Regions from separate parts of the Homo sapiens genome. Here all the other regions are linked to region 4. Evidence: promoter capture Hi-C in human tissues and cell types (Jung and others, 2019). All regions are on one chromosome and are shown on one strand. Each heading gives the region's core, a stretch centred on a gene start or on the middle of the fragment in contact. The rest is flanking DNA. Distances are from core to core; before and after follow the strand shown.

The links. The method cuts DNA at HindIII sites, captures the fragments that hold promoters and counts their contacts. A contact is called where the count stands out against the background at its distance.
Region 1: a contact is called between a fragment that was not itself captured here and the fragment with the promoter of E2F8 in region 4, in 2 of the 25 tissues and cell types used here (dorsolateral prefrontal cortex and lymphoblastoid cells).
Region 2: a fragment that was not itself captured here is called in contact with the fragment with the promoter of E2F8 in region 4 in 3 of the 25 tissues and cell types used here (adrenal gland, bladder and spleen).
Region 3: a contact is called between a fragment that was not itself captured here and the fragment with the promoter of E2F8 in region 4, in 1 of the 25 tissues and cell types used here (mesenchymal stem cells).

The regions. Positions count from the first base shown.
Region 1 is chr11:19,500,499-19,503,473 of GRCh38, forward strand. NAV2-AS5 (NAV2 antisense RNA 5) reads right to left here. Exons shown (of 3, transcript NR_049725.1): 3 at 2,174-2,975. It also overlaps a transcript of NAV2 not described here. Among named protein-coding and RNA genes, the nearest start is that of NAV2-AS5, 5.2 kb to the right of the region's middle. The HindIII fragment of the contact is 5,944 bases long and covers 1-2,975 here.
Region 2 is chr11:19,565,187-19,568,171 of GRCh38, forward strand. It overlaps a transcript of NAV2 not described here. Among named protein-coding and RNA genes, the nearest start is that of MIR4486, 8.6 kb to the right of the region's middle. The HindIII fragment of the contact is 7,337 bases long and covers 1-2,985 here.
Region 3 is chr11:19,542,495-19,545,383 of GRCh38, forward strand. It overlaps a transcript of NAV2 not described here. Among named protein-coding and RNA genes, the nearest start is that of NAV2-AS4, 20 kb to the left of the region's middle. The HindIII fragment of the contact is 3,031 bases long and covers 1-2,865 here.
Region 4 is chr11:19,239,504-19,242,203 of GRCh38, forward strand. It overlaps E2F8 (E2F transcription factor 8), which reads right to left and starts at 1,442. Exons shown (of 13, transcript NM_024680.4): 1 at 1,045-1,442; 2 at 604-727. The coding sequence starts at 618. The region is part of intron 1 of CSRP3-AS1 (CSRP3 and E2F8 antisense RNA 1); the gene reads left to right. RefSeq lists a silencer at 1,512-2,211 and enhancers at 2,332-2,441, 2,647-2,700. The HindIII fragment of the contact is 7,308 bases long and covers 1-2,700 here.

The DNA.
Region 1 (2,975 bases), core at 38-2,537, 260 kb after region 4:
GAAATGATTAAGCACCTCTTGTCTTTTTTTAAATTTACTTTTATCACATCTGAAAAATATTTGGTCAGGAGGAAGATAGTATTAGTTGCTTAAATTACTTTTAAGCATTATGAACTAGAAAATTCCAGCCATCCCTCGTGGGCTATCCCTTGAACAGAGTATAATTGACTGGAATAACAATACTAATGATATTAAAATCTTATCTCTGCAATGCACTTTAAGACTTATAAAACTTTCAGATGCTTTATCTAATTTGCTCTGATTCCCTGAGGAATGCTAGTTCTGATGGGTAAGGTTGCTCAGGCTGGGTCACACAGCTAGTGAGTGGCAAAGATCTTTTGATACAAAGTATACTAATTTTCAATGGCTGCTGTAATAAATTACTACAAACATAGTGGCTTAAATCAACACAAACTTGTTATTTTACACTTTCATAGGTTAGAAGTCTGACAGCGTCTCACTGGGCTAAAATCAAGGCATCGGAAGGGCTGTGTTTCTTTCTGGGTGCTCTGGGGGCAAAATCTGTTTCCTTGACATTTCCAGCTCCTAGGGGGTGCCCACATTCCTTTGTTCATGGCTCCTCCTTCCATCTTCAAAGTCAGCAACCTTGCCTCTCTCTGAACATTCATCTGTAATCACATCTCTCTCTGACTGTCTACAGTGGGGAAAGTTTCTCCACTTTTATGGATTCGCATGAATAGATTATGCTCACCTGGATAATACACAATATTCTCCCCCATCTCAAGGTCCTTAATTTTAATTACATTTGCACAGTCCCTTTTGCGTGTAATATATTCACAGATTCCAGCAACTAGGGTGTGGTTATCTTTGCAGGACCACTATTCTCTCTATATACATGGAGTCATCTACATTTCCAGTACCTCATCTAATTAGGATTCTGTTGGCTACCGACCTGCCTACCTTTCTTCTTCTTTTTCTTTCTGGTTGATGGTACAGTAGCTATAATTCCACAACTCCACTGGTTGTAAAACCTCAGTGTTTGGCCAAGCAGGAAGAAATGCTAAACACATTCCCAAAAACAGATCTTGAGGCAGAGTCGCCTTTGAGTATGTTGAGCCCAAAACATTTTATATTCTTATAAAATCACTTATTGCTAGCTACAGACATGTTTCTGATTAAAATGGTCCAAAGGGTGTGTTCTTATAGCACATATTGCTTACTCATTTCTCTTAGTGTAAAGATACTAGATACTGTAGGAGAAATGGATTTATTTTATGGTAGGGTAGCAGCAGCAGAAATTACTTCATGCAAATGAAGCTTGGCAGTGTGACTTCATGAATAAGAAATGAGCCGGCGTCTCTTCTTTCCACAGGCAATATTGCGCTCTGGGAAATTAATTGTGGCATTCGTTGGGTGGCCCTGGCTTCTCTGTTGGAGTTTCAGGCAGACAAAAAGATGCTGCACCCAACTGGATATAAAGCAGTTATATCCTTTTTAGCTTTGCTCCGCATTGTAAGTGAACAGTCGATGGGTCTCAAGTCTCCTAAAAGCGTCTTGAGACCTTTTAGAAATTACTCATGGTGGAAGCCATACGAGGCACTGAGCCACACATAGTGGCCATGAATTCAGATCATCTCTATTAGAAGAGATCTATCTAATAAATGGAAGAGATCTAAGATACTCTAGGTTTTTTTATTGAGAATATGCCTCAGTAGTTAAGCACATGGTCTCAGGAACAAAAATATCTGGGTTCAAATCCCTGCTCTGCTCCCCTCCAACTATATGACCTTTGGCAAATTACTTAATCATTCTGTGCCTCAGTTTCCCTATTTATAATTTAGAGATTATAATTGCACTTACCTCATAGGCTTGTTCTGAGGATTAAATAAGTAAATCGACATAAAGCACTTAGAATAGAGCCAAAGAACTCTACTGACACCAGGCTACAGAAGTGCCAGATAATGTTACCTTAGTTAAAATTAAAGGCAGGTACGCTTTGCTGATGACAGCTATAGGTTTTCATAGTGCAATTAAGATGAAGCAGAAAAATGGGGCTAAGAATAAGAAGTCTTGGAGTCCAGCCTCACTTGTTGCCCAGCTATCTAGGCAAGTCATTTACCTCGTTATACCTCTGTTTTCCCATTTGTTGGATGGGGCAAAGGTTGTTTCAGTTATCTCTTACTGCATAACAAATCACCCCAAAATTTAGTAGTTTAAGATAACATCATTTTATTATGATATAACTTTGTGGGTCAGAAATTCAGGCAGGCTTTCAAGCCATCCCTCCAGCAAAGCAACTTACATATGAGTTGTAACTATTGGCTAGAACACCTACATGCAGCCACATTAGCATGGTGGCTTCAGAGTTTGAAGTCCATTGCTCCCAGAGACAGTATTTCAAATAGCGGAGAATACAAACTGCCAGCTTCATAAGTCCTGGCTCTGGAAACTGGCAGTGTCCACATTGTGTTAGTTGAAGTAGGCATGGAACCTATCAGAATTCCAGGAGATGGGACCTGGACTTCGCCTCTGGATTGGAAGACTGTCAGGTAATTTTCTTTCTTCAGTTTCCAACATGATTTTGGTCTTATGATCATGATGTGTGGACACAAAGTACTGTGTAAACATGGTCTTGATTAAATTGATTAAATTGAGTTATATAATGCCTTTTTGAATAGACCTCTTTTTAGAGCAATTTTGGATTTACAGTAAAATGGAGCAGAAGTTAACAGAGATTTCCTATATACCCCTTGCCCCCCACACATACACAGCCTCCTCCATTATCGATATCTGTCACCAAAGTAGCACATTTGTTATAATTGATTAACCTACACTGGCACATCATAATCACTCAAAGTCCATAGTTTACATTAGGTTCACTCTTGCTGTTGTTCCTTGTATGGGTTTGGGCAAATGTGTAATGATAAGTATCCACCATTATGGTATCATACACAGTAGTTTCACTGCCCTAAAAGTCCTCTGTGCTCTGCTTATTCATCTCTCCCGCCTTCCTA
Region 2 (2,985 bases), core at 292-2,791, 330 kb after region 4:
TATGTTGCCGGGATCCATCGCTGTCCTTTTACATATGTTTACTCCTACATCAATCAAATCTGTAAAGCCCAGTGGCTGAGGTTAAAGCCCATGCTTTTCTTCCTACTCCGCACTGCCTCGAAACCCTTGGAAGTACTCTTCTCCTATTTCCCTAATCTTTCAAATTATTCAAATTCCCATTTGTTCTCCAATTAAAGGTCCCCTCCTCCCTCTTCATCCAAGAGTCCTTTGGTGAGAGCTTCGGTAGTGGCTTGATCACATTCTGAATTTGAGATTTGCTTGTAATTAGCAGTCTTGAAAACACCAGTTCTTTGCTAGGCTCTGCTCCCAGGAACCCAGGAGTCAGGACATCTGAGGAAGGGCTACATGCATCACTGATCTCTCCCTTAACCACCCCTTTCATAGGTATCTGGAATAAGCTCAAATTTCATTGATTTTCCTATGGTGATAAATTGACAGCCCGCCTTTTTTTTCCACAGAAATTAATGCCAGTAAAATGACTACTACAGCCCACTCCCTGCTTTGAATACACCATTAAAATAAACCATGTCTGTGTGCAAACATGTGTGCACCCAATGAGATGTGCTTTTCAAAGACACTGTCATGCAATGTACACAACACTGTGCAGACATTTCAATTTTCCTCCTGGCTGTCTCGCCATCTAAAGACGAAATGCTCGATGTGGCCTGGCATCCAATGGCAGCTGGAGGAAAAGAACTTGCGACTTCGTGTTTCTCCTCTGGAGCTCTGGGCTTGCTCTCATTTGCACTGGTGAATTGTAATGTCAGCAACCTATGGATAGACCGCAGGACACTGGGCTGCAGCATGAAGAGCTATCCAAGGAGATTTTATTTTATTTTATTTTATTTTATTTTATTTTATTTTATTTTATTTTTTTGTGAAACAGGGCTTCGCTCTGTCACCCAAGCTGGAGTGCAGTGGCACCATCACAGCTCACTGCAGCCTCAACCTCTGGGGCTCAAGCAATCCTCCCACCTTTAAGCCTTCTGAGTAGCTGGGACTACAGGTGCACGCCAACACACCTGGCTAATTTTTTTTGTTGTTGCTGTTGGTAAGAACAGGGTTTCACCATGTTGCCCAGGCTAGTCTCAAACTCCTGGTCTCAAGCAATTCACCCACCTCGGCCTCCCAAAGTGCTGGGATTACAGGCATGAGCCACCACTCCCAGCCCAAGGTGGTCATTTTAATGTGCAGTTGTTACAGACAAGCAAATGATCTCCAGTTTGTAAAGATCTCTCTGAGTCAAAAGGAGACCATGACTAAATTCCACCTTTAACTTCAAGGTGATCCATAAACTTGAGGAGTTTTGCAAACGCCATTTGGCTCAGTTACTGAGATTCTTTGTGTCATTTTGGCAGCCACCCCTGTGCCTGAGACAGGGAGCTCAGGCAGCTGGTTGGAGCTGCTTGTGGATTCAGATATTCCAGAACTGCCGGTTATGTAGGAAGTTCATGCTATAGAGAGGAAGATGAGTATGAGACAGAGAATCCATATTTATGAAACACCAGACATTATCCTGGGCACACTCCATCCTCACAGCCATGTTGTGAAGATACTTACATATGCTCTGTCCAGCATCCAGGGAAACTAAGGTCTAGAGGGGCATGATAACTGGCCCATGGTCACCAAGGATCTGAAAGACACACCCACAAAGGCCTAACTCAAATCCATGTATTTTCACCATTGCCTGTGAGAAAGAATCTTCCATATATTATGTTTATTTGTTTGCATTTATTTGTTTTATGAAAAAGGTCTACACTTTCTGCAGCTGTCACTTTTGCAGGCAATAAGGATACCTTTCTGGAACGAGAAATCTACATTAGACCAGAGACTGGATGATGGAGGGCTGTTTCTGTAATATTTATCCCTGCAAAGTAAATATTTCTGTCTCCACCATGTTCCAGAATTTCCCTGCTGACAGCTTCACAGATACTTCTTTTTCTCCTCTCTTGAACATCCAGCTATTGCCGGGGACAGGATGACCGGGTGCAACTGGTTCTTTTCACTTTTGACTGTGGACTTCTTGCAGCCAAAGAAAGAAAGGCTGGCCAGTGATCCACACTGGGTGAGGATTGGAGGCCAGGGCTGTGGAAGGGAAGTGTAGTTTGCATCCTAAGTGGTGATCCCAGGGGACAACCGACCCACTAGAGAGCAAAACTGAGGCTTTCCATGCAATGTTTTGGACCAATGTATATGGTTCCCTGAAGTCATCTTGCAGATTTATTTCTGTAATGTTCTCACATTTATTCCCTTCTCTCTTTTCCCATCAGCACTGTCCAGAGAGGTTGAGTGATTTGCCCCAGGTCACACAACTAGTAAGTGGCTGAACAGGGCATTAATTCTAGGCTTTCTGCCTCCCTGGTTTGTGAGCTTAACCATTGCACTGTAGCTCTAAGACTCTTGGTGAGCCAGGCCCCCCTTTGTCCCCAGCCTTGGCCCTCAGACATCTCACTATGGCCCTTTAACCTCCAGCCCTGGAGCTTAATTCAGTCCCTCTGATAGACCACATTCTTCCTTGTCTTTAGGTCTTTCCATAGGCTATTCTGCAATCTGGAACTCATTTCCTCACTTTACCCTCTCTTTCAAAAAGAAAATCCTCCAGGAACCTACTCACAGTCATGCTCAGGTTAAAGTTCCTCCTTCCGAGGGGTCTCCCATCACTGACCTTCTCCCCAGGCTGCATACACCCTGCCTCATGCCCAGTCAGGGGCTCTGTGTACCCTCGCATCCTAACACCGATCACACTATAGTGTAACTTCATATTTCATATTCTGTCTCCCCCTGGCTGTGCACTCTCTGAGGGCAGGTGCTTGTTCACAGCTGTGATCCTGCAGCTGATGCAGCGCCTGGCTCACAGTAGGTGCTCGGTAAATGTTGAATGGATGAAACATGAATGAGCAAGTCAGAGAACCAGTGCCTGTGCCCATTTGCCCCTGTTGTTCCCTTGGCCTGGCACATTCTTCT
Region 3 (2,889 bases), core at 100-2,599, 300 kb after region 4:
TAAGAATAGCTAACATTTGTGGAGTATTTACTAGGGGTCAGGTTCTATACTGAGGGGTTCCATATATACTGTCTCACTTCATTGTAACAAGTCATGAAGTAGATTTTATTATGCTCATTTTAGAGATGAGGACCCCAAATGTCCAGAGGTTTTAATTCATCGAAGGTCATAAGCAGAGCTGTTACTCTAATCCAGGTCATTTTGACCCTAAACACATACTCAATTAATATCTCTAAGTGCTGCCTATAAAATATTCTACAGGTGAGAAAACTGAGATTCAGGAAACATGGAAGTTTGTCAAAGGTCTTGAGCTAGAAGGCAAGAGCCAGGAGGTCCGCCTGACTCAGACTGTGAGCACCACCTTGCTCTCCCCTTCACCTGAAACCCTCCCCTTCCTGGGTACCTCTCCTGCCACCAGGACCACAGAGGAGAAGGCAGGTTCCCTGATCAGGGATGAAGCCCGTTTCCCTTTAATAAGGTTTCCATGTCACTGGTTGAGCATGGGTCCAATCACCTAAGTGTGAGAACTGCCTGATTAGAGAAAGTTTATTATCTTTTCCAAATTCTGAGATTCTAAGAGTTCCTTCACCCATCCTTGGTCATCTTTAAGATAGGGCCATAAAAAGCAATATAAATTTGAAGGTCAGAAAGCCCTGGGTTCAAATCCCTGCTCTGCCATTTCCGATATGGGTGACTTAAAGCAAATTGATTAACCTCGTAGAAGCTCAGTTTCCTTGTCTATAAAGTAGAGATAAAAATGACTGCCTGGTATGGTAGTCAGTCTTCCTCTTTTGGAAGTTTGGGCTTCCTGCTGAAAGTCCTTTCAAAATATATCTATGAAGTTCCAGGAACTAGGGCTTGAACTGCCGATGATGCATGCTGTCAACCAACGTAACAGTAATCATTGCTATCATCAGTGAAATGTCACTGGGCTTTTTGTGTTTGTTTGCGTGGTCCTGTATCTATTCTTTTTCTTTTATCGCACCAAATCTCACCTTATCTCACTGACACAGCCTCTCCTCCTCATCTTCCTCTTTTGGGAAAGGTTCAGAATGGCATAGGGATTAAAAAACGTTCAATTTGGAGTCAGATATTTTGCCATTTTTGACTGTGTAACTTTATCCAAGATAGCTACCCTCTATGAGCTTGCCTTCCTTTGTCTATAAAAAAGGAGTGAAAATACCTACCTCCCTTCATAGGATCATTCAGCGTTAAATGAGATACTCATAGCAGGTGTTCAAAAGTTACTTCTCTTTCTCTTCCTTGTCCTCTCTTGTCTCACTTGGCTAACTCTGAGGCTGACCTCTCAACTGCATCAAATACTATTTGTCACCTCCTCCTCTTCCTCTTATAGCTCCCCAAGTATTTCTAGAGTGGCCATGCTCTCGGTTTGAGCTGAGGATAATCCATCAATTATTACAATGAATGTGAGTGTACTCTGTAGCCTTGTGAAAAGTATTGTTCAAATGTAAACTACTTATTTTGCTCTTCCTGGCCAAAGCTTGTGAATATATACTTACTACAACATGATTTGCACTGTATTCATTCAAATAATATTATTGAGCATCTTATGGGTTTGTGGTTCTCAATACTGTGCCTGGCACATAGTAAGTGCTCAATACATCTTGGATTGCTAAAAAATTATTGAGTGTATGAATGAATATTTCTTTGAAATAGCAATTATGTTGGCAGAGTTGATTTCCATCAAAACCGAGTGATTGAAGGAGAATGAGAACGAGATGGACTTTGGTCCTAGACTCTCTTGACTCTAATCTCGAGTTCTTTTCACTATCAGTCTTTCCAATACCAGCAGAATGGGATCCGTGCTGTAAGACAGACACAGGTTTCAAGGGTGACAGTGTAGACTGAGGCCACCATAAAGATCAGGTTCAGATCTCACATCCCCAAGGCTTACTGGTCAGTACCCCAGTTAGTAGAGTTTGGCATCTAGAGATCTGAGTAGGCATCAAGGCCTGAGCTTCTGCCTCCTGGATTCTGCCTCCCTGGAGTCCATATTCCACACATGGGAAATTAAAGTCAGGCAGGGATTAGCTGGGCCACATTCCACCCTTGAACACCTGTCTATGTTGACAGCTTGGAGTGGGGTACAGAATTCATCCTCTGGAAGAAACAGGGTGTACTGTGCAGCCTCTTCCCAGTTCCTCACCCCCTGGCTGCTTACCTGGCCACCTTATCCTGCTAGACACAGTGCACAGAAAGCATGGAAAGTAAGAAGGGAATTAGGGACATAAAAGAACGAGCCCCAGCTTTGGAGCCAGCTAGGGCTGGAGGTGAGCCTGCCCCTGCCACTTCCTAGCTGTTAAGATTGCTGGCAAATCTTCCAAACTGTCTGTCAGCCTAATTTCCTTGAGAGAGAGTAAAGCAAAGGAATGAGAATCGTAGTACCTGCCTCACCAAAATGTTGCTAGGGTGTCTGTGTCTTGGCTCCACACATGTGGAACACCTAGCAGATGGTTGGGCCAAAGTAAATGTCCCACTCTCCACCTCTCTACCCTGCTTTCAGCCCCAGAGACAGCAAAGCAAATGTACATTGGAGTTGAGCAGTTGCCTTAATCAAAGACCCTTTCCCTCCCATGAAGTCGTTCTGGCCTTGCAGTTCTCATTCATTTCTTGTGTACCTGCTGCACACCACAGCCCTCCACGCCAGTGTGGGCATTTATTATTGGGCGCTCACAGGAGGGTCAAGCTGCTACCCAGACCTAACTGGCAACTGCTGTAAGCTTCATAAGGTGGGCAGATTTGTGTCTCCATACTGCCTCCAGGGGAGCTTGGTTTGGGCCGGGCAGCCAACTGAATTATTCATGACATGTGTGCTCTCTGTCTTTTTTCCTCCAAGCCTCTTTGGTTTAGAGACTGATATTTGTCTGC
Region 4 (2,700 bases), core at 192-2,691:
TTTTGTAATTTTACAAAATGTTTGCCCCCTAAACAGAGCATTTTGCAGACCCCATAAATAAGCTGCCAATTTGGTAAAAAATTATCTTAAAAAGAAATTCAGTCTCCAAACATGTCAAATGCCCTTTCTGAATTCCAAGTTGTTCAAGAATCCTCAGAAATGTTGTAATGAAACTAACGAATTTTTGAAGAGGGGTAGGTTTGCCCCTTTACACTCTTTCTAGTTTTTAATGATTTGGTAGCTGTCTCAGACATAAAGAGAGAAAAGGTATTTTTAAGAATAATAAAATTTGTTAGTTTCATTACAACATTTCTGAGGATTCTTGAACAACTGGAATTCAGAAAGGGCATTTGACATGATTGGAGACTGAATTTCTTTTTAAGATAATTTTCATTTTTTAAACTATATTAATTAAATTAGTATATATTTTAAACTATATATTTTTGAAACTATAAGATAAGGTTCATTTTTTCCAGGTCTTTACAGAGGCTAACCAAGGTTGTGGCATTAAGAAAACACATTGGATAGGGAAAAATTATGGAGTTAAATCAGGATGATACTGAATTTAAAATTGCAATGATGAATACTGAAGTTATAAAGTACCTTTTCGTTCTCCATTCTGTAAATTCCTCATACATTTAGAGTTTAAAAATGAAAAATCTGGAGTTCCTCCCCAAATCCCGATGGTTCAAGTAGTCCAATCAATTGTACTAAAAGTTTTAATATCCTTAAAGAAAAAAGGAAATAGAAAAAGTTAGAGAAAAACAAGAACCAAAAGATCTGTTGAAAATTCCTTCACGGACAAGAGGCTACGGAAACAAAGCCTAACGAAAAATGACAAACTAGATTTACATTTTATTCTCGACCAGAGATCGCCCCACTGAGCGGAGAACGCCAACAAATGCCAGTAAATTCCTTCAGCAAACGGATCGGCGGTCCTAAGACTTCAAGCAACCCACGGAATTTCTAGTGACAGCCCTCTCCCATCTGTAGAAAAGGCGAGCCATTCTCCGGACCCCAGCGAATACTTTAGGAAGCACCCACCTGTTCGCAGATCAGGGCTCCGGACTAAGCGCACGAGCCCAGGTCCCAGCTGAGCGCACGCGACCCCAAGTAACTGGGTACAAGTCTGCATCTAGATGCCTGGATTTCTCCCCTTACACACACGTGCACAGGCTCAGCAGTAAAGTCGTGGGAGGTCGCTTGACAGGAAAGTTCCAAATTCAGTCCCAAAGCTCCAAGTATGCAGTTGGGCATTTAAAGAGTCTTATAATTAAGACTTTTTTTTTAAATTTAAAAAAGGGCTTCCTTAAAGATACAAAGCACTATTTACTCCCTGTTCGGGTGGCCAGTTCACACCACGGCGTTAGACTCCACCTTGGAAGGCTGTATTTGCCCAATAAGGCAAGCAGGTACTGTCCCCCGGCCGCCACTCGCTCAGTGCACTTCCCCCAACTTTCGGCCAAAGGCCCCTCCCCCAGGCCCTGTCCGCCCGCCGCAGTCCCGACAGTTCCCGGACAGCATCATCGTGGTTTCCAGGACAACAATTCCCGACCAATCAGAGGGCCGGAAGCGGGCCTGCGATTGGCCGACGGCGCCAGGGGCGGGGCCGGACCTTCCGCCTTCGATTTAAAAATTTGGCGCGGAAAGTCGGACCGTGGCCGGCGCCTCCCCTTAGCTGCGCGGGGCCTGAGCGCGGGCAAACCCGCGCCCGGAACCACGGCAACCCCGCCCCTCCCCCTCGTTCGCCCCCGCCCCTCTGCGCGGGAGCTCAGCTCCTCCCTCACGGCCCCCGGCGAAGCGGGAGGCGGGAAACGGCCGCCGCCGCCGCCGCCGCCACCCTCCCGAGCCCTCTCCCGGTGCCGTGTCGCCCGGGCGCCGCGCCCCTCTGCGTCCCGCTGACCTGTCAGTCCACCTCACGGCGGGAGCCGGCGGGGGCTGAGCCGGGACTCGTCAGCACCGCTGCCCCTCTCAGGCCCGGGAGCCCGCGTACCTGGCAGTCAGTCTTTCCGCAGCGCCGAGGTGGGTGCCGGAGAGAGACGCCGGGACCGGGACTGGCGGGCCGGCTGGCGGGCAGAGGGAGCGTGACCGTCCAGGAGCAGCCAAGCCCCCGATTTGAAATTAACCCGCTCCCGGCGCGAGCCGATACCGCGGGCGGGGAGGGCCGCTCCCCTCCCCCACGCCCGCTCGCCCCGGCCCCGGCCCCCGAGCGCCAATCCGAGCCTCCCGACCGTAGCCGCCGGCGAATCGGTGCAGGCACCGCCCTCCACTCCCGCCTCTACGGCAGAGTTGGGGGAAAAGTTCAGCAACTTTTTTTTCCTTTTTTTTTTTTTTTGCATACACCCCCTCCCCTTGCTCAAAGTTGGGGAATAAAATTTGGCCCGTCCGGGGCTCGCGGGCTGGGCCGCAGGCGCCCTGCGATTCCCCGCTTGGGGCTATCTCACCCCTGCCCAGCCCCAGGCCGGCTCACCTGCCCTCGGACTCCAGCCGGACCTCTCCCCCTTGCACCCCTGGCATGCATGATTGTGCTGCCCACCGTCTGCCCCGTGCCTCGCAGAAACTGGCGCGAGGAGGGAGAAGCTTGGCTACTGGTGCCTAAGCTCCGTGGGCTCTGGGCCTTGGCCCAGCGGTGAGAACTCAGGTGTAGGAGGAAGAGGAGGAAGGCGGAAAACCCTCCAACCCTGTCCTCGCCGTCTTTCC